7 separate regions of the Homo sapiens genome follow, and all the other regions are linked to region 6. Evidence: promoter capture Hi-C in human tissues and cell types (Jung and others, 2019). All regions are on one chromosome and are shown on one strand. The core of a region is centred on a gene start or on the middle of the fragment in contact, and the rest is flanking DNA. Distances in the headings are between cores, read along the strand shown. Region 1 overlaps ZNF18 (zinc finger protein 18). Region 2 overlaps DNAH9 (dynein axonemal heavy chain 9). Region 3 overlaps DNAH9 (dynein axonemal heavy chain 9). Region 4 overlaps DNAH9 (dynein axonemal heavy chain 9). Region 5 overlaps MAP2K4 (mitogen-activated protein kinase kinase 4). Region 6 holds the start of PIRT (phosphoinositide interacting regulator of transient receptor potential channels). Region 7 overlaps DNAH9 (dynein axonemal heavy chain 9).

What was found. Contacts are between HindIII fragments. The study calls those that stand out against the background at their distance.
Region 1: a fragment that was not itself captured here is called in contact with the fragment with the promoter of PIRT in region 6 in 1 of the 25 tissues and cell types used here (dorsolateral prefrontal cortex).
Region 2: a contact is called between a fragment that was not itself captured here and the fragment with the promoter of PIRT in region 6, in 1 of the 25 tissues and cell types used here (dorsolateral prefrontal cortex).
Region 3: a contact is called between a fragment that was not itself captured here and the fragment with the promoter of PIRT in region 6, in 1 of the 25 tissues and cell types used here (dorsolateral prefrontal cortex).
Region 4: a contact is called between a fragment that was not itself captured here and the fragment with the promoter of PIRT in region 6, in 2 of the 25 tissues and cell types used here (dorsolateral prefrontal cortex and lymphoblastoid cells).
Region 5: a fragment that was not itself captured here is called in contact with the fragment with the promoter of PIRT in region 6 in 1 of the 25 tissues and cell types used here (dorsolateral prefrontal cortex).
Region 7: a contact is called between a fragment that was not itself captured here and the fragment with the promoter of PIRT in region 6, in 2 of the 25 tissues and cell types used here (dorsolateral prefrontal cortex and spleen).

Annotation. Positions count from the first base shown.
Region 1 is chr17:11,981,894-11,984,593 of GRCh38, reverse strand. It overlaps ZNF18 (zinc finger protein 18), which reads left to right. Exons shown (of 7, transcript NM_001303281.2): 5 at 397-481; 6 at 1,187-1,297. Among named protein-coding and RNA genes, the nearest start is that of ZNF18, 14 kb to the left of the region's middle. The HindIII fragment of the contact is 3,173 bases long and covers 1-2,700 here.
Region 2 is chr17:11,900,865-11,903,564 of GRCh38, reverse strand. DNAH9 (dynein axonemal heavy chain 9) reads right to left here. Exons shown (of 69, transcript NM_001372.4): 60 at 653-846. Among named protein-coding and RNA genes, the nearest start is that of ZNF18, 95 kb to the left of the region's middle. The HindIII fragment of the contact is 3,725 bases long and covers 1-2,700 here.
Region 3 is chr17:11,943,676-11,946,375 of GRCh38, reverse strand. The region is part of intron 67 of DNAH9 (dynein axonemal heavy chain 9); the gene reads right to left. Among named protein-coding and RNA genes, the nearest start is that of ZNF18, 52 kb to the left of the region's middle. The HindIII fragment of the contact is 6,646 bases long and covers 1-2,700 here.
Region 4 is chr17:11,921,138-11,923,837 of GRCh38, reverse strand. DNAH9 (dynein axonemal heavy chain 9) reads right to left here. Exons shown (of 69, transcript NM_001372.4): 62 at 1-24. Among named protein-coding and RNA genes, the nearest start is that of ZNF18, 75 kb to the left of the region's middle. The HindIII fragment of the contact is 7,416 bases long and covers 1-2,700 here.
Region 5 is chr17:12,068,416-12,071,115 of GRCh38, reverse strand. All of the region lies in intron 2 of MAP2K4 (mitogen-activated protein kinase kinase 4), which reads right to left. Among named protein-coding and RNA genes, the nearest start is that of MIR744, 12 kb to the left of the region's middle. The HindIII fragment of the contact is 5,380 bases long and covers 1-2,700 here.
Region 6 is chr17:10,836,767-10,839,466 of GRCh38, reverse strand. It overlaps PIRT (phosphoinositide interacting regulator of transient receptor potential channels), which reads left to right and starts at 1,380. Exons shown (of 2, transcript NM_001101387.2): 1 at 1,380-1,522. RefSeq lists a silencer at 147-371 and an enhancer at 2,068-2,569. The HindIII fragment of the contact is 18,169 bases long and covers 1-2,700 here.
Region 7 is chr17:11,963,049-11,965,748 of GRCh38, reverse strand. All of the region lies in intron 68 of DNAH9 (dynein axonemal heavy chain 9), which reads right to left. Among named protein-coding and RNA genes, the nearest start is that of ZNF18, 33 kb to the left of the region's middle. The HindIII fragment of the contact is 5,086 bases long and covers 1-2,700 here.

The sequences.
Region 1 (2,700 bases), core at 104-2,603, 1.1 Mb before region 6:
TGCAGTGAGCAGAGATTGCTCCACTGCACTCCAGCCTGGGCGACAGAGTGAGATTCCATCTAAAAAAAAAAAAAAACCCAAATAAAAACAAATAGTATGGAAAAGGCTCCTGCCCTCTATACGTTCTCCACTTTTAAATAATTCACCTGAAGAGGTGCAGAATGTAAAGCCTAGATGTTTTCTTACCAAGGAAAGAAACACTGATATAGGGACTGTTGTTTTCCCTTTGGCCTCTTTGTCCCTTGAACCACTCTGCTGGGATTTCTCAGGTCTTGCGATGGCCAGGATCCTATGGCACGTTTCTGTCTTCTCAGCTTTCCTTTAGGCAGGGAAGGCAGGTTCAAACACCTTCATTGGAGTCATGGTATTGTATTGCTTTTTTTTTTTTTTTTCCAGGAACAGTGGAGACAACTGGATTCCACTCAAAAGGAGCAATACTGGGATCTCATGCTGGAGACCTATGGGAAAATGGTCTCAGGAGGTGAGGGTGTGGGTTAGTCTGATGGAAGGAGGTAGAAGGACTGGAAAACTGTGAGGCATTTTCCATGCACTTATAGAGACATCTGCTGAACTGAAAATCGCCAGGTGAAAGAAATCGTTAGGGACACAGTTGGGAACTGGGGCAAGTTGGAGCTAGCAGAATTAACAGTAAGAACTTCCTTGTATTGAAAGTATTCCGTGTGCCAGGAACTGTTTGTGGGTACATTGCACGGAGTAACTTCTTTAATCTATGAAATTGATGATGGTATTCTCATTTTAAGCCTGATGAAAGTGAGTGTCAGATCAAATACTTACCCACTGCCACATAGCTCATAAGTGGGCTGAGTTATGATGGAACTCAGCTGTGGCTGGTTCTGAGTCCATGCTCTTTTCTACTAAACCACACTTGTCAACCAACCATTGGTGGGATCCCCATCATGATTCTCACACCAGCCTGCCAGGTAGTCTACAGACCTTTCTGTCCACCTGCCTAGACTCTTCTTTTCATGGCCTTTACCATCTGTCAAGGTCATCCTGTGAGTACTGGTGTCTTACAAGCTCCACACACTGTTCTAAGGTGAGTTTCTGCAAGTGTCCAGAGCCTTCATATTTTCCCTCATGCGTAGGGTGCTCCTTTGAAAGACACAGCTTGAGCTCCCAGTCTTCCCTATTCATCCAGGCCCACCATACATCTTTCTCTCTATAGCAGGCATTTCCCATCCCAAATCTGACCTGACTAATTCAATAGAATTTGGGGAAGAGCTGGCAGGAATATACCTTCATGTCAATGAGAAGATCCCAAGACCCACCTGCATAGGTGAGTAATCTTTCATTGGTCTGGAATCATTTCTGACTGCCTGTCATTAAATTGGAGGTGATTGGGGAGGTGGTGAAGGAGGTCAGGGGAGGCAGAATATTCTATTACGTTGGTTATAACTAGCCATGATCTGATTGGTTTGATTTAACTATTGAGATTGAGTCTACTTATCTCTGGCTATAGGGCTGTTGACACATATTTAACTATGGAAGGAAGACCACACATCAGACCTGCTGCCTTTAATCTTGTCTGTTATTTTAGCTTTCTTTCTCTGAAAGAATTAAGATTCACACAAATTAAGACCAATACAAATAGAGTAGAATTTCATTGCAAAGGATTATGTAGCAGCCATTATTACCCTTCCTAGCAAGAAGTTAGAGTATCTAGACATAAAACAAACAGAAAAAAATGTTTTATCTAATCCCTATGCACCTAACACTTCTTAAAACAGCAGCATCAACAAATACTTCGTATAAATAATTTATTTAAGACTAGGGAAGAAGAAATCTTAACTTGTTATCTTGTAAAATAGTCATTCTTTGCTTTCTACACTTTTTCTGAAACATTGAAGTTACGTAAAAACTAATTGCGAAACCTACACACACACACACACACACACACACACACACACACACACACTTTTATATATACAGTAAATCCCAGAACCTTAGAGGAAGAAGAGGACCAAGGATGGGAATTGTAGGGCAAGCCATTCTTTCTCCCCAGTGGCATCTAATTAATTATTTTCTTTTGCTAATATACCACAGAGAGAGCAATCATTAGCTGAGATATTTGATTTTAATTTTACACAACGTATTTATCAGGCCATTTCACAAGGATTTCTTCTGGAACAGAATTTTTCAAACTGCATTGCATAACCAATTAGTGAGTCGTGAAATCATTTGATAGAGTTACAACCAGCGTTAAAAAAAAACACAATAAGATTGAAGAGGAAATATCAGATGTAGGGGTGGGTAGTGTTTCAGGAAATATTTGTTTAAAATATGTGTGCATGTACTGTGTTTCAATATTAATATATCGATTACTGCCTTAGCTTGGGCTGCTGTAACAAAATACCATAGACTAAGTTGCTTAAACAACAAACATTTATTTCTCACATTTCTGGAGGTTGGGAAGTCCAAGATCAGGGTGCCAGTATGGTTTGCTGACCTCGCTTTTCTTGCTGTGTCTTCACATAGCAGAGAGGGGGGTTGGGGAGAGGAGAGGCGGAGAGGAAGGGAGAGACTGGGAGAGGGGGAGGTGAGAGAGGGAGAGGAGGAGACAGGAAACTAATCCCATCATGAGGACTCCACCCTTAGGACCTCATCTAGACCTAATCCCTCCCTAAGGCCCCAGGCCCCATCTCCAAATACCATCATACTGGGGGCTAGGGTTTCAACGTA
Region 2 (2,700 bases), core at 33-2,532, 1.1 Mb before region 6:
CACGGCCTACAACTTCTTTTTTCTTTTAAAAATAACTTTATTGAGGTGTAATTGACATACCATAGGATTTTCCCATTTTAAGTGTACTATTCAATAACTTAATACATTTACCAAGTTGTACAGTCTTTACCATAACCCCGTTTTAGAACATTTATATCACACCAGTGAGATTCTTTATGGCTATGGCTATTTAATTTCCTTTTTTTTTTTTATTTTTTACTTCTTTTGAGATGAAGTCTCACTCTGTCGCCCAGGCTGGAGTGTAGTGACGCAATCTCGGGTCACTGCAACCTCTGCCTCCCGGGTTCAAGCAATTCCCTGCCTCAGCCTCCAGAGTAGCTGGGATTACAGGTGCCTGTCACCATGCCAGGCTAAGTTTTGTATTTTCAGTAGAGACGGGGTTTCACCATCTTGGCCAGGCTGGTCTTGAACTCCTGACCTTGTGATCCACCTGCCTCGGCCTCCCGAAGTGCTGGGATTACAGGCGTGAGCCACCGCGCCTGGCCTGTTTAGTTAATTTCTATTCCCACCCTCTAGCTCCAGGAAACTACTATATACACATGGCTTTGGAGCTCAGCCCTGCTGGTCCAGTTGTCCTGAGGTTGCCCTTGCCCCATGCCTATGCTGGGCCTTCCACCACCCTGTTTCCTACCGCAAAGCATAGGTCATCCGGTCGGGCCGCATGGCTCTCAGCATGCAGAGGCGCTGCAGGGCTGTCTTGTTCTTCCACTCCTGTGGGAGCTTCTCTTTCTCAGGACATTCGGACTCCACAAACTTTTTCCAGCTCTTAGCAGATCCCTCTATGTCCCGATCCAGATTAGAGAATTCTTCCATTGATGAAAGTACCTGGGAAATTTCAGAGAATCTGAAATGCAGTTTCTCCAGAAAGCTGTCATTTGCATTGTGTTGGGGGATTGAGGGGCCAGATGGTCTTATCTACACAATTCTGTCTCATTTATACTCTTGTCTAGAGCTTTGGATCATCCCCCAGGAAAAATCAAGAAAGAGGAAGAATTTTGAGCAGCTTAGCAAAGTGCCCCAATAACATGCAAGATTTAGCGCATAAAATGTTTGGGATATTATTAGCAGCAGAGACTGAGCCACACCTGCCTGTAGGTGTGTACATGGAAAAGAGGGGCAAGAAGGGGCATTATGGTTATTCTGGTCTTGAAGCTTGGACACCTAAAGTTAGTGACTTCTCCCTTTCCTCCTCAAACTCACTCTGCCACCAAACCCTGTCAGTTCACCTCTCAAAATGTTTCTAGAATTATTCATGTACTCTGTGTTAACGCCAACTCTTAAAATGCCCATGGGTTGTCTATTTCTATGAGGATTCAGTCCAAATGTATAACTTGGTAGCCAGATCTCTTCATCTGGTGCCTCTCTTCAATCTGTCCAGTAAGTCATGTGTCCTCCTACTCTGTCCCACTCTGAGCATATCTGCTCCCAACCTTGGAAATGTGCCTGACTCATTCCCAACTCATTTCCTTGTTCATACTACTTCCACCATCTGTAAAGTCCTGTTTTCTTTTCTGCCACATTCCACTTCTTCCTTTTCTTGTGCTGGTCACGATTGTTATATGTTAAGGCTCTACAGGTTGTGAAAGACCAGTTCAAAACCTGCAACCTCCCTTGGGCCATCCTTCCTAATGTAGAACATGTAGACCTCCCATCCTTTTGTAAACCACTTAGAGCAAGCTTGTCCAACCCATGGCCCTTGGGCTGCATGCGGCCTAGGACGGCTTTGAAGGTGGCCCAATACAAATTCATAAACTTTCATGAAACATTATGAGTTTTTTTGTGACAGATATATATTTTAGCTCATCAACTATCATTAGTGTTAGCGTGTTTTTTGTTTTGTTTTGTTTTGAGACGGAGTGTCGCTCTGTTGCCCAGGCTGGAGCGCAGTGGCATGATCTTGGCTCACTGCAACCTCCACCTCCTGGATTCAAGCAATTCTCCTGTCTCAGCCTCCCGAGTAGCTGGGACTACAGGTGCAGACCACCACGCCTGGCTAATTTTTGTATTTTTAGTAGAGACGGGGTTTCACCATATTGGTCGGGCTGGTCTTGAACTCCTGACCTCAGGCGATCCACCCGCCTCGACCTCCCAAAGAGTTGGGATTACGGGTGTGAGCCACCACACCCGGCCCCAGTGTTAGTGTGTTTTATGTGTGGTCCAAGACAATTCTTCTTCTTCCAGTGTGGCCCGGGGAAGCCAAAGATTGAACACCCCTGACTTAGAGATACTTGCAGAGTTGACATCTTTAATAAAGAGCTTGACTTCGTTTTTAGATGTTTGACTGCTGATAGCTTTTAAACCTCATCCTTTCCTCTTCCCCTTCTGCCCTGGGCACTCTCTCTTTTGGTGCTGGAGGGAAGTTGTACCAGGCAAGCCCCTGCCCATGCACAGACACCCTCACCCTGGCCCCACCCCCTAAGCATCATAATACCCAAAGCAGTCTCCTTTTCTGGCACTCTCAAGCCATTTGCAGCCTGCTTGGGAGCTCCTTTGCTCTTCCTAGAAAACCATGTTATCTGAGTAATAAACTTTCTCATACCCTCTTAGTATGTATGTAGCATCATCAGTCTTGATGTTGGAACTGTATTTTGGGTGTGTGTGTAGGAGGTCTGTTCTATTTCTTTAGAGTGCCCACATCAACATCACTCACTTAGATACTTAATTACCTGCAGTCCTGCC
Region 3 (2,700 bases), core at 169-2,668, 1.1 Mb before region 6:
TAATTTTTATCATTCAAACGTGTGATGGTGTCAGGCTTTTTGTCTATGCTTCAGTGGTTGATTGCCCCTCCTGATAGACAAAATCTGTTTCTAAAGATGTGAAGCTGTTCAAGTTTAAAGTCTGGCTTGCTGACTGGGGATCTAATCTGGCTCTTTTTTTTTTTTTTTTTTTTTTTGAGATGGACTCTTGCTCTGTCACCCAGACTGGAGTGCAGTGGCATGATCTCAGCTCGCTGCAACCTCCACCTCCCGGGTTCAAACTATTCTCCTGCCTCAGCCTCCCAAGTAGCTGGGATTACAGGTGCGTGCCACCACGCCTGGCTAATTTTTGTATTTTTTAGTAGAGATGAGGTTTCACCATGTTGGCCAGGCTTGTCTCCAACTCCTGACCTCAACTGATCCGCCCACCTCGGCCTCCCAAAGTGCTGAGACTACCAGGTGCCCACCACTACGCCCGGCTAATTTTTTTTTTTGTATTTTTAGTAGAGACGGGGTTTCACCATGCTAGCCAGGATGGTCTTGATCTCCTGACCTCGTGATCCAGCTGCCTCGGCCTCCCAAAGTGCTGGGATTACAGGCGTGAGCCACTGCGCCCGGCCACAAGTGCAGCTTTCTCACATGTGTATATTGCATAGTAGTGCAATTCTCACTTTTAGTGCACTTGTCACCTGAATAGTGAACACTGTACCCAATAAGTAATTTTTCATTCCTCACCCCCCTCCTTCCTTCCCACCTTTTGCCACCTCCAATATTGGTTATTCCACTTTGTATGTCTGTGTATTCCCATCGTTTAGCTCCAACAGTCCCAGAACTTTAAAGTGATTTTTTTTTTTTTTTTGAGATGGAATCTCTCTCTGTCACCCAGGCTGGAGTGCAGTGTCACAGTGTCGGCTCACTGCAGGTTATAGCATCCCAGGTTAAAGCGATTCTCCTGCTTCAGCCTCCGTAGTAGCTGGGATTACAGGCGCCCGCCACCACGCCTGGCTTATTTTTGTATTTTTAGTAGAGACGGGGTTTTGCCATGTTGGCCAGGCTGGTCTTGAACTCCTGACCTTAAGCAATCCACCTGCCTCGGCCTCCCAAAGAGCTGGGATTACAGGCATGAGCCACTGAGCCCAGCATAAAGTGATTGTTAAACTAAGAAAGTGAGGAAGGAAAACCTCAAGCAGAATTTCCTCTTCCCCTTCCCCCTGCCAGGTAAGCTGGTCAGCAAAGCCAAGCGTGCCTTCCACCAGTGTTCTGGGAAGAGCTCGGAGCTGACATTCCTCGCTGCTCCATCTCAGGGACTTGCCCCACTTAGGCCCTCCGCCTCTCACTCACAGGCCAGACCACTCTGCGAACCCCTCCTGCCAAGTCACCTGTTTTGCCTCTTTTCCCTGCTGTTCTCATTTCTGGCCAGCTCAGCTTTATCCATTCCCTAGACTTAAAACTCTCTTCTCTGAACTCTGCTGCCATCCCCTTTGCACCTTCATTTTGCCACAAATACCACTGTCTAACTTTTTTCTTTTGCCTCTTACCTTCATGCTGTGCTTCCCAAACTTGAGTCATCATAAGAATTTCCTGGCTGGTGATGAAACATTACGGACTTCCAGGCCCCACCCTTAGAGGTTGGTAGGACTGGAGCGTGGAGATGGGAACATGTGATAAAACTTCTGGAGAGTCTGAGGACCAGGCCAGCTTGGGGGATGGTCCTAAGGAGAGTCTGGGATTCATGACAGCAAGTTTGAATGGAGATTTCTCTGTTTATCTTCCATTTCGCAGTGGGACCAGTAGACAAAGGTCCCAGCTACTTTTCTATCATTGTTTTGTCACCTTTTGGAAGTTCACCCTATCACTGTTGCTCACCTGAGTGGGCCTGTAGCTGCAGCCAAACCATGTTAACTCTGAGAACAGACCGTGGGCTGCTCTGCCCTGTGCCTCTAGGAGCCCCTGCCTTTTGTGATCACCTGTCACAACCCTACCCTTCCTCCAGAACCCCCTCAATGCCACTGCTTCCCTGGGGCTTTCCTTATCCCACACACAATACTTGTTTCTTCTTTCTTCTCCCGCGTCTCTCTATGTGGCTCTTAATTAATTTCACCCTGCTTTATATCAGTGTGTGTGTCTGTTTCCCCACAAGACTGTCCTTCTGCAAGGGAAGGCTCCCTTTCCAATCTCCTCTGCACCCTCCAGCAGGCAGTGCTGAGACTTGCCCAAGAGGCTCATCAATCAACATTGCTTGAATCAGACTGAAAGAAAAGACAACTACCTCTCACACCCTGCATCTTTGCCCAGGCAAGCTCCGAGATTCATGACACCAACTGCAGCAAAGGCTCTCGAAAGAAAAATGAGTGAATGAATTGGAAGTCGAATGGGTAAACAGGCTGTGCCACATTACCCAAGTTCCATAAGCCTTTCAAATGGCAGCAAACCTACTCAAGATAGTTACTGATATATACCTGCGTACTCAGTAATGGAACTGCATTACATAACAGGCAAAGTTCTTATTTACTCTGTGAAATTTTGTACTTCATTTGATTACAAGCTGGCACAGAATTTGGAAACGTTACCAAACATTGTCCATCTTCAACATTCCCCTCCTGTCTCTCCTTCCTTATTTCCTTCTACCCATGTTGAGGTGCGGTGGAGGAAGGAGAAAGAACATTAAGAGATTAAACAAAAAAAACCCTAACCTTGATTTTTTTGTTTTTGTTTTTTTTG
Region 4 (2,700 bases), core at 53-2,552, 1.1 Mb before region 6:
TGAAGGTGTATCCAAGTTTTCTTCCTAAAAGGAGGATGGAGGCGTCATTATTATTTCTTGTGTCTAATGATGGATGTTTGATGTTCATAAGGAAATGCACACGCTCAGATCACCCCTCAAACACGGGCATGCCCAAATCTATAACCGAAACCTCATATACTGACCCTTTTCCTTCACAGGGGGCTACTTCTTCCAGCTTTTTATTGTCATATAAAAGGAAGCACTTGAGCCGGGCGCAGTGGCTCATGCCTGTAATCCCAGCACTTTGGGAGGCCGAGGCGAGCGGATCACCAGGTCAGGAGATCGAGACCATCCTGGCTAACACAGTGAAACCCCATCTCTGCTAAAAATACAAAAAATTAGCTGGGCGTGGTGGTGGGCGCCTGTAGTCCCAGCTACTCGGGAGGCTGAGGCAGGAGAATGGCGTGAACCCAGGAGGCGGACCTTGCAATGAGCCGAGATTGCGCCACTGGCTCACTCCTGTAATCCCAGCACTTTGGGAGGCTGAGGCAGCAGGTGGATCACCTGAGGTCAGGAGTTCAAGACCAGCCTGGCCAACATAGTGAAACCTCATCTTTACTAAAAATACAAAAAATTAGCTGGGTGTGGTGGGAGGTGCCTGTAATCCCAGCTACTAGGGAGGCTGAGGCAGGAGAATCACTTGAACCCAGGAGGCGGAGGTTGCAGTGAGACGAGATCACGCCATTGCACTCCAGCCTGGGCAACAAGAGCGAAACTCAGTCTCAAAACAAAACAAAACAAAAACCAAAACAAACAAAAAAAAAAGAAGCACTTGTTCAGACCAAAATCACTTCACTCTTCCCTCTTCACTTAATTCCCAAAGAGGGGTAGGATTGCTGATGCTATTCTTTATGTGTCTTATCTGCAGACCAGATATGGGTCCACCATTCTAGGGAGTGCTGATGAGAGAAGGGTGAGAGAGTAGCAAGCATATGGGTGTGGTCCTTTGTGGCTTGCCTTGTCCTCTGAATAAATATTGTGTCTTCTCTGGAACTTTACTGGGAGGTGTGGCCAGTAGGGGCAGGATTCAGGTAGTTCTGGCTTCCTGTACTTTATGCCCTATTAACCTCCTCTCCTATCATTCCCAACACATAGAAAAGAGTTATCTCATCATTTTGCACGAATTAGAGTGAAGAGGGGCAAGACATGAAGCTGTTTAGTTGTGTAGGTGTGAATTTTCTGTTGGATGTATATAAGGGTTGCTGGTGTTGCAGATGGATTAAGAGAATGACCACACACACAAATGTGGCAGCCATACCACTGAAGCAAGACCAGTGGGCTTCAGCTGCTCTCCACGCCCAAGGGAAACAACACAAAGAAATGACCCTAATATAGAGAACATTAGCTCTTAGCACAATCCAATAAAGTGTAGAGAAATTACATAATATTCTTTAGATAAAAGGATCATAAAAATGTATAATACCATGAAGGAATCATTAAGTGATTTTTCTAGCAAGGTGAAGTAGACAAAAGGGGAGAAATCGAAAAAGAAATAATAAAAATCCATACTTAAAAAAAATTTAGTTTCAGAGGAACTAAAAGTGAAGATGTAGTTTGATACTTCTGCAAGAAAATTTTTGGAAACAAGTGTTCATATTGAATATTTCTTTTAAATATAAACAATGTATAGACTGTCATTGAAATGTACAGGACAACGCAAGATGATGACTTTTTGTAGTAAGAAATAGATATTGGAGACTTAACTGAGATGAACCCAAGAAACACCGTTATTAAATTATAAATCTTAGTTGGCAAAACATTTGATGTCAGCTTTGGAAGTGGGGAGATAAACAATTCATTCCAGAGAAAATACCAGGATAAAAAGTGTTGGGACTTTTAGATGTCTTCTGTGACATTTCTGCTCACAAAAGGGCCTGTTTATTTTGTTTATTAGCAACAGAAGGATATGGGCAAAGAGGTTATTTAATAAAGATTAGTTTGAAAATTCCAGACTGGAGGGATCATCACGGGCAAAGTTTAGCACTGCAGAGCCCGGCTGGGATCAGTCTGCATTAATCTGGGCTTGAGGCATGACAATGAGGCGGAGAAGAAAGAAATGGATCTTGGAAACATTGAGAAGGGGAAAAATGGATGGGATTCTCACTAACTGAACACTCAGCCAAAGGTGGCCGCATCCCATGTGAGCCTCATGGGTGCGGAGGTAACCTTGCGAGGTCTTTCCCTTTGCAACTGTGAGGCTCTCAGATGGCTTATTGGGCCTTGAGCAAGTCCCTCCAGTGTCTCAGGATTTCACCTTCAGATTGTTGTATGCTGGTGCTTCCATGCCTCCACCCCTACTGCTTGTGACTCATCTCTCCTTTTCTGACTTTCCTTCCAGCTCTACATATGGTGGTGTCACCTGGAACTATGCCCCACTGTCAACCTCTTTTAACATCTTTACGGTGTGCGTCACTGACCTCTAGTCTCTCTGAGGACATCACAACTCCTACAGTCCTCTCCCTAGTTCCATACCCCTATGGCATTGGCGTTGGAAGGGGAACATTTTTTCTAGTGTTTTCTTGCTACTTGGAGGCTATTTCTTCTCCACCTTCATAAAAAAGAAAAAAAAAAAATCACCTTTTTTTCTTTTTTTTCACCCAGGCTGGAATGCAGTGGCATGATCTCACCTTACTGCAACCTCCACCTCCCAGATTCAAGTGATTCTCCTGCCTCAGCCTC
Region 5 (2,700 bases), core at 71-2,570, 1.2 Mb before region 6:
CCAAACAAAGAAAAGGAGAAGATAGAGATGCACAAGACAGACACAGGGAAGAAGACCATAGAGATTACGGTTATGCTGCCACAAGCCAAGGAAGAGCAGCAGTACCAGAAGCTGAAAGAAAGGGGGGATCCTCCCCCAGAACCTTCGGGAGAAGCATGGCCCTGCCAACACCTTCAGATTTCTGGCCTCTAGAACTGTGAGAGAATAAATTTCTGTTGTTTTAAGCCACCAAGTTTGTGGTAATCTCACAGAAGCCTTGAAAAATCCAGTACACCATCTAAATCATGAGTCACAACCTTTTTCTGTAAAGAACCAGATAGCAAATATTTTAGGCTTTGCAAGCCACTAGTCTCCTGCAACTATGCAGCCAGATGGGTGTGGCTATGTTCCAATAAAACTTTACTTACAAAAACAAGCAAACAGGATGGATTCAGCTCATGAGCTGTAGTTTGCTGACTACATGATATAAATGATACCAAATGGTATCTAGCAACCTAAATTGCATCTATCATGCAAATAATCTAAATCATATTTTCTATATCCTTTTTCTCTTTTACATTTATAATTATGCTCTATATGATAAGCACCTTCAATTATCTGCCCAAATCCTATAGTTCTGTTTCCAGAATTTAATCTCAAGATACATTTCAGAATTTTTCTTGAAAATGGCCCACCAATCAACAGAGAGTGGAATTAGGGGCAGAAACCCTTCTAGGATTCTCTCATCACTTAGGTAAGTACGCTAAGATGGCAGCAAACCTCCTTGTTTAATATCCTGGACATCTCTCATATCTACCTATCTTTCAGCAAGTAATAGCTAATTATCTTAACAGATTTCTTTTTCCTGCACATGAGAACTTGATTTCTCAAACTTGACAATGTCTACTATTTTCCTTCAATAAATAAATAAATATCTTCTTGTGCCTAGAACCACTATCCGTAAGAACCTTTTATTATTTAATTAGTTTGAAGTATGTTTTCTCCTCTTATTTCACTATCACATTCTTCTACCTCGATCATCTGATCTTGATTTCTTCCCAATGCTATCAAATATACCTTCTTTCCCAAATCATTTCTTCCTTCTTTTTCCTAAGCAACTTTGACTGTATCAAGCCAGCATATACTAAAACGCCCCAAGCTGTTTTACTGTCTCCTCAGCATGCATATATATATATATATATATATATATATATATATATATATATATATATATATATATATATATGACTAATCTTCCTTAGACAGGAAAATAAAGGTAAGACATACCCTGCACATCACTGCAACTGTTCTTCTGTGTCCGTACTGTTACGATCTCTAGATGAATACTGCTTTATGCATCCTTCTGCAATGCAGCTCTGTTAATTCCGGAAATTTCCACAGTAAACTCGGTCTGTCAGTTACCATGGAAACTGCCTGCTTCCTGGCACTACCAACAAATGAGTATCTTTGCTGTGATCTAAGATGAGGCAAAAGGAAAAACTGAAAAATGAAATGTCCAGAAGAATGGCTCAAACATTCTAAATAGAAAATTTCAAATTCTGATACTCATATTTAGTGAACAGAATGTATTAGACAAATTAGATAAGTCTGCAGTATTCTGAAGTAGTACTGATTTATGACATACAAAGAAATGTTTTATCACCACAGAAAAGAGTAACATTAAAGAGGACAAGACAAACATTCATGTTTGCATCATGTTGCTATTGACTGTTTCCTAAGAGCTGATCCTGTGTCAGTTGTACTCTAAGTTTACCCTTAGAACAGTTTTTCTGGGCTATGCTTCTTCAAGAAAAGGTAAGGAAAACTGCCCTAAATCTATAGGTTACATGTTTTCATGAGATCCTTTCCCTGTTTAGGCCCCAATTTCCAGTGGCAGCTAAAACCTCTTCCCAAGTAAGTAAGAAATTAAGAGTAGTTTAAAGTGTATCTCAGGAGTTTTTGCCAACAAGGTAGCTTTACTAGCATTCTCAGAACATTAGACATAGCCAACCACAATTCCTTCCCAACTGCACTTTGAAACAATGCTAGATTTCTATAACATCATGCACTACCAGTTTGCTTCCTAATTATCAAGCATCTTTTAATTTTTGCCTGTCCCTCCTCTTCTATCCAACCTCTAAATGTTAGATTTTCTTGGGGCTCAGCCCTGGACACAATTTTCTCATCAAAATACATTCTCACTCTCTTCCTAGGCAACCCTTTCATCTATATGGCAGCAATTTTCAACTTTTTATCTCCAATCTACAACTTCACTTCTGGCACCAGACTCATATTTTCAACACCAGAGTATGTGATACATGCACATAAGCACAGAAACACATGTATACATAAATACATATACACACACGCTATATATATATATAATATATATATGTATGTTTTGATATCCCTAATAAAATGTCACAGGTCCCTCAAACTTAAATATTATCTAAAACTCGATCTTGCCCTATGACCCCTATTTACAGATGCTCCATACCCAGTAGTCTCCATCACAGTAATCGCAACTAAACCCATTAATTCAAGCCAGAATTCTACAAGTCACTATGAACACCTTCCTCCTTGTCATCATCTACATTCAAATTATCACCAATATTTATTAATTACTTCCAAAATGTCTTTACAGTCTCTCTACATGTACTGTCATCAATTTAATACTATTGAAGTCATGATAGGTGACTATTACGCTTTACCTACATTACC
Region 6 (2,700 bases), core at 131-2,630:
TAATTCACTCTAGGGTTCCTCTGCGAGCCAGGCCACTTGGTTTTACAAACTGATTTGAGTATAAAGTCAGAGGCACCTAAGGCAAAGCAACTCACATCCTCAAAAACCTTCAAAGTCAAGTTCCCCTGGACACTCAAGGCAGGCCTCTCCCTGCTCATTGCCCTGAGCAGAGACGCTCATCTTCACAGAGGACAGAGGGCGTACTCAGCCTGATCCCTCACAGCAGCTCAGGGGACAGGCTCATCCTCCTAGCTCTCTGCTTCTCTAGGCATGGATCACACAGCAACCTCTACAGAGCCTTCTAGGCTCAGAATCTCCTGCTCATTGCACAGATGAGGAACTCAAGATGCCAAATATGGGAGAGTCTCATACCTGCCTTGACAGCAGCTTCCTTGGATGGCTCCTAGGAAAGCCCTCCCGGCAGACCACAGAGGAAGCCCCTCAGGGTACTGTTCCCAGTAGCAAGGATGCCCACCCACCAGTTATCCTGAGGAACAACAGCTGCCCACGTTCTCAGGTTAGTGTGGGCCAGGGCAGGAGCCAGCATGCCTTCCAGAATCATAGGCAATTTTGCTGACCTCAGTGTATCCGTCAGCATCTTGAGAACTGGCCACTCAACAGCTCACACCCAGCTTCCCGAAGCACAGTCTGGTAAAGGTTTATAGAGGAGAAAACCTTTTCATCCTCCTTGCACTGATTTGCATCATTCTCTTCTCATCATTGTGGCAGCAGGCATCCCATAAAAAGCAACAGGGCACCATGAGGAATGATTGGAAGAGCGATGGGGAACAAGCTCTTTTGCCTCTATTTGAGATGTCAGGCCTGGGATGGAGGTAAGTCGTGTTGTGGGCTCCTGGCAGTTTGTAACATAGGGTGCCCACCCGTGCATTGGAAAGTTCCAAGAAGTGTCCCTGCCATCTTGCAACCAAGGATGTTTTCTAAGTCTGCATGTGCCCCCTCCAACATCCAGAACACAGAGAGTTCCCAGATCAAATTATTAAGGCCTGCACTGAACAGAGCCAGTGTAGCCTGAGTCAGCCGGAGGGTCTGATCCACTCTTTGGCAACTCATCCCCACCACCATGGCCACTACACACCTCCACCAACCCAGAAACTCCAGGTCCTCTGATTTCTGAGCCTGGGTCAGGAGAAGCTGCCCTGCCCAGGCACCAACGGAACGCACGCCTCCATGAAACTTGAAGACAGACTGCAGAGAAGCATCATGAATTTTTCACAAGATTCATCTAATTGTGGCTGAGCAGAGCTGAGAAAGCCACAGTCCGAGGACCCATGCCAGCAGCTCACAAAGAGTTAACCCATTAGGCCATTGCCTGGTGAGCTCATCCATCCCTGCTGGAGCCTGCTCAGTTGCTGGGATTCACAACACACTGACTTCTGGACGTGGTCAGGGTGGCTTTCTCTGGCTGGCATGGACTTGAGCAGAAACTCATTGCCGGCTTCCTCCTTGCACGAGCACCAAGTGATTCCCAGGTCCCCCATCCTCCCCTGGGACATCGAGGACAGTAAGTAAGGAGGGAATGTTTCCTTCTGCCCTTCCTTCCATCTCGCTGAAGGAAGGAGCAGATTTTAACTTTGCTTTGGAGCGTGTTGTCTTTAAACTGGGGTTGGAAGGCAAGCATGAACAACAAGCGGAGAAAAGGGGGCTATGCCCTGGGAGGGGGTGAAGTCAGCCTGGAGGCACTGCCTGCTGAGGGTCTTGGCAGACAGTGGTGGCCAGAGGAAGGGGGGCCGCCCCTTGCTGTGTACTGGGAAGAAGGGAATTTGTGGGCAGAGAGCTGCTTCAGTCCTGCGTCTATAGCATCCAGCCTTCACTCTTAGCAGCCATTGTGGGAAGGGCTGGGCAGGGACTCTCCTCCCAAATCTAAGTGGAAGAAGCAAAAAAGCCAGACAGGAAAGTGCAAGGCCACCCCCAGACCCCAGAGTACATGGGTGGAATCTCGGACCCCAGCCGTCCTCCTGAGCACCCTGTGTCAGACCTCTGCAGCTGCCAATGTCTTCCTCCTGCAGCTGTGGCAGGTGTCTGGGGCAGGTGCCAGAAAAACAAGGTGGAGTGCGTTGGCTGCCTCGGGAGTTTTATCTCAGACAGGGGGAACAAGGCAGGCACATGCAAACACGGACAAAGACGTGGCTCAGTCAGGCAACTGTGTGCCGTGAGAACCCTGCATCCGGGTAAAGCCAGCCGTGGTCACACACGCAATCGCCCGAGCTATTTTTCTACCCTGTCACTGGCCAGGGTCTGGGCACCAGCCGGGTGGCCCAACAAGGGAGGTGGGTGGCACCCTCTAGGTTGACTGTGACCTTTGGGAAACTTCCCTTCCTAGAAGCGCTATGAGCAGGTGACAGATGGGTGGCCATGGCCATGGTGACAGCAGCGGCTTACTCAGAAACCCTCTAGCTTCTATTAGCCCAGACACTTGGCCCCCACTCACCTTATCAGAGGGGTGGACAGTCACCAACTGAATGTCCTGGTGAGGGGAAGACAGCACCGCCAGAGAAGATAAGGGACCGTGGGGATGACCACTGGCAAGCTGGAGCTGGGTGGGGCCTTAATGGGGACTCCGTGAGGGAAACAGGAGGACCCTCCACTTCTTACCACTCTGGGTCTTCCACAGGAATAATACATGGTGTTATTCCCACCACTTCCATCCTGCCTTCCCCGCTTCTCCCCCAGACTCCCCTC
Region 7 (2,700 bases), core at 64-2,563, 1.1 Mb before region 6:
TCAGTGATACATAGTTCACACAATTTTCTTTAGTTATTTAGACATGGTTTCTTTTGGTTATTGGAACATCTTTAAAATAGCTGATTTAAAGTCTTTGTCTAGCAAGTCCAATATTTGATCCCCCTCAGGAATAGTTTGCGTTGATTGCTTTCTTCCTTGTGTATGGGCCATTGCTTTTTGTTTCTTTGTATATCATAATTTTTTTGTTGAAAACTTGGACATTTTAAATAATGTGGCCACTCTGCAAATCATATTCTCTCTCTTGCCAGGGTTTGTTTAGTGACTTTTCTGAACTGATTCTGTAAAGTCTATATTCTTTGTCAAGTATGGCCACTGAAGTGGCCTGCTCTGTTAGCTTAGAGGTCACCAAATAATTGGACAGATTTTCTCAAATGCCTAGAACCAATAAGTCACAAAGTCTTGGCTGAGTGGCTGTGTGCAAGTGTTGGAGCACACCTTCAGTGCTTAGCCAGGCAGTTTAAAACTCTGCTTAGATTTCACTCCCCTGTTTTCCTAGAACCTCAAGGTTAGCTAGAGTGTACTGCCTTCTCAACTCTCTTGAGCATGTCCACAGCTGTGGATGGGTGCACAGATCTGCACATAGGCATGGCCTAGATTTCCAGGAACATGTCAGGGGTTTTCAAAGCCCCCTATGGCCATCTCATTCTCCGACTTGCCCTTTTAAGCTTTTTGATTAGCCTACTGTTTGCACCACTATTATCTACTGCTTCAGACAAACTGCAGTGTTAAGCAGTTGTCTTTGATTGTCTTCAACAAATGCCCTGGGGAAAAAGACTGTTGCCCTGGGTGAGTTCCAACTCAGGTGAGATAAAGACTTGTGAGTCCAGGGAATCCCTGGACAGGCAAAATAATGACAGTTTTTTTGTGGGGGGGTGGGGAACAGGGCTTTGAAGGTGCTCCAACCCCATTTTGCCCCTTCCAGTGGTTTCCAGGCTACTGGTTTCACTGTGATTGTGGTCTGTTGGTTTTATAGGTAACCTCCAAGCTAGGGGTTGGGTTGAGATGGGAATAGACAAGTTAAAAGGCCATAGACTGTTCTTCCTACTGAGATTCAGCTGTTTTGCTTGAGTAAACACTTCTTGGATTGCTGAAAGCCTTTGGTTAATTTCCAGAATTCTAAGAAAGTTGATTCTGACTCAGTTTTTGTGAATGTTCTCATTGTTTTATGGAGGAGAGGATTTTAGGAGGTCCTGACTCTTCCATTTTTGCCGACATCTTTCTGGGATAAAACCTTTGAGAACAACAGCTTTTGGTGAAGAAGTATTGATTTTGGGGAAGTTTTTATTATTATTTACAATGAGGTATGAAAAATGGGAGGTTGACAATTGAAACTGATATCATTCCCCCACTTCCAGTGTCACTGACTTTCCTTCTGAGCTTCTTGCCTACTTTCCTTTTGGTACTTCTCTCATTTTGGTGGTTTGGAGGATTCTATTAATAGCTGTGGCTTGCTCTAGGCCACCTTATACCTAATGCAATCCATATATGATCTCCACTGACAGAATCTTGTGCAAATGTTCAGGTGGAGAGAGGGAAGTCAACTTCCTTCTCAAGATTCAGGCTTTCTAAACATTACCCTACTTTACTGTCCTTTCTGTTGGCTCTTGAATTGCTTTCCTAGGGCTGGCATAATAAAATGCCACAAACTTGATGGCTTGAAACAACATATTATCTCACAGTTCTGGAGGCCAGAAGTCCTAAGTCAAAGTATGGGCAGAGTTGGTCCTCCTGGAGGTTCTGAAGCAGAAACCATCCCATACCTTTCCTAGCTTCTGATGGTTGCTGGTAATCCCTGGAATTCCTCGGCTTGTAGATACATCACTCCAATTCTGCCTCTGTCTTCATAGGGAATTCTCTTCTGTGTCTCTACATGGTCTTCTTTGTTTTGTTTTTTTGAGGTAATTTGTTTAACTGCAAGCCTATATGGAATGAATGAATACATTTCCTACTGCTAATATACTCCATGAGACTTTACTTGCTATATCCACTAGAATGGTAAGCATTATAAAACATGTCTCAACAAAATTTTCCATCTCTTTTCCTTTTAGTTTCTTTTTTTTAAAAAAAATTTCAACTCTTAGATACAGGGGATACATATGCAGATTTGTTACATGGGAATATTGTATGATGCTGAGGTTTGGAGTATGGATCCCTTCATCTAGTTAGTGAGCATAGTACCGGATAGTTAGTTTTTATTAACCCCCACCTCTCCCTACACCCTCTAATAATCCAGTGTCTATTGTTCCCATATCTGTGCCCATCTATGTGGTCGTTGTCTTCTTTTTTTTTTTTTGAGACGGAGTTTTGCTCTTGTTGCCCAGGCTGGAATGCAATGGTGCGATCTCGGCTCACTGCAACCTCCACCTCCCGGGTTCAAGCGATTCTCCTGCTTCAGCATTCCGAGTAGCTGGGATAACAGGCATGCACCACCATGCCCGGCTAATTTTGTATTTTTAGTAGAGATGGGGTTTCTCCATGTTGGTCAGGCTGGTCTCAAACTCCTGACCTCAGGTGATCTGCCCGCCTCGGCCTCCCAAAGTGCTGGGATTACAGGTGTGAGCCACTGTGCCCGACCTGTGTGTCTTCTTATAAGGGCACTGGTCATTGGATTTAGGGTTCATGATAATCCAGTATGACCTCATCATAACTAATTACATCTGCAAAGACCTTATTTCTAAA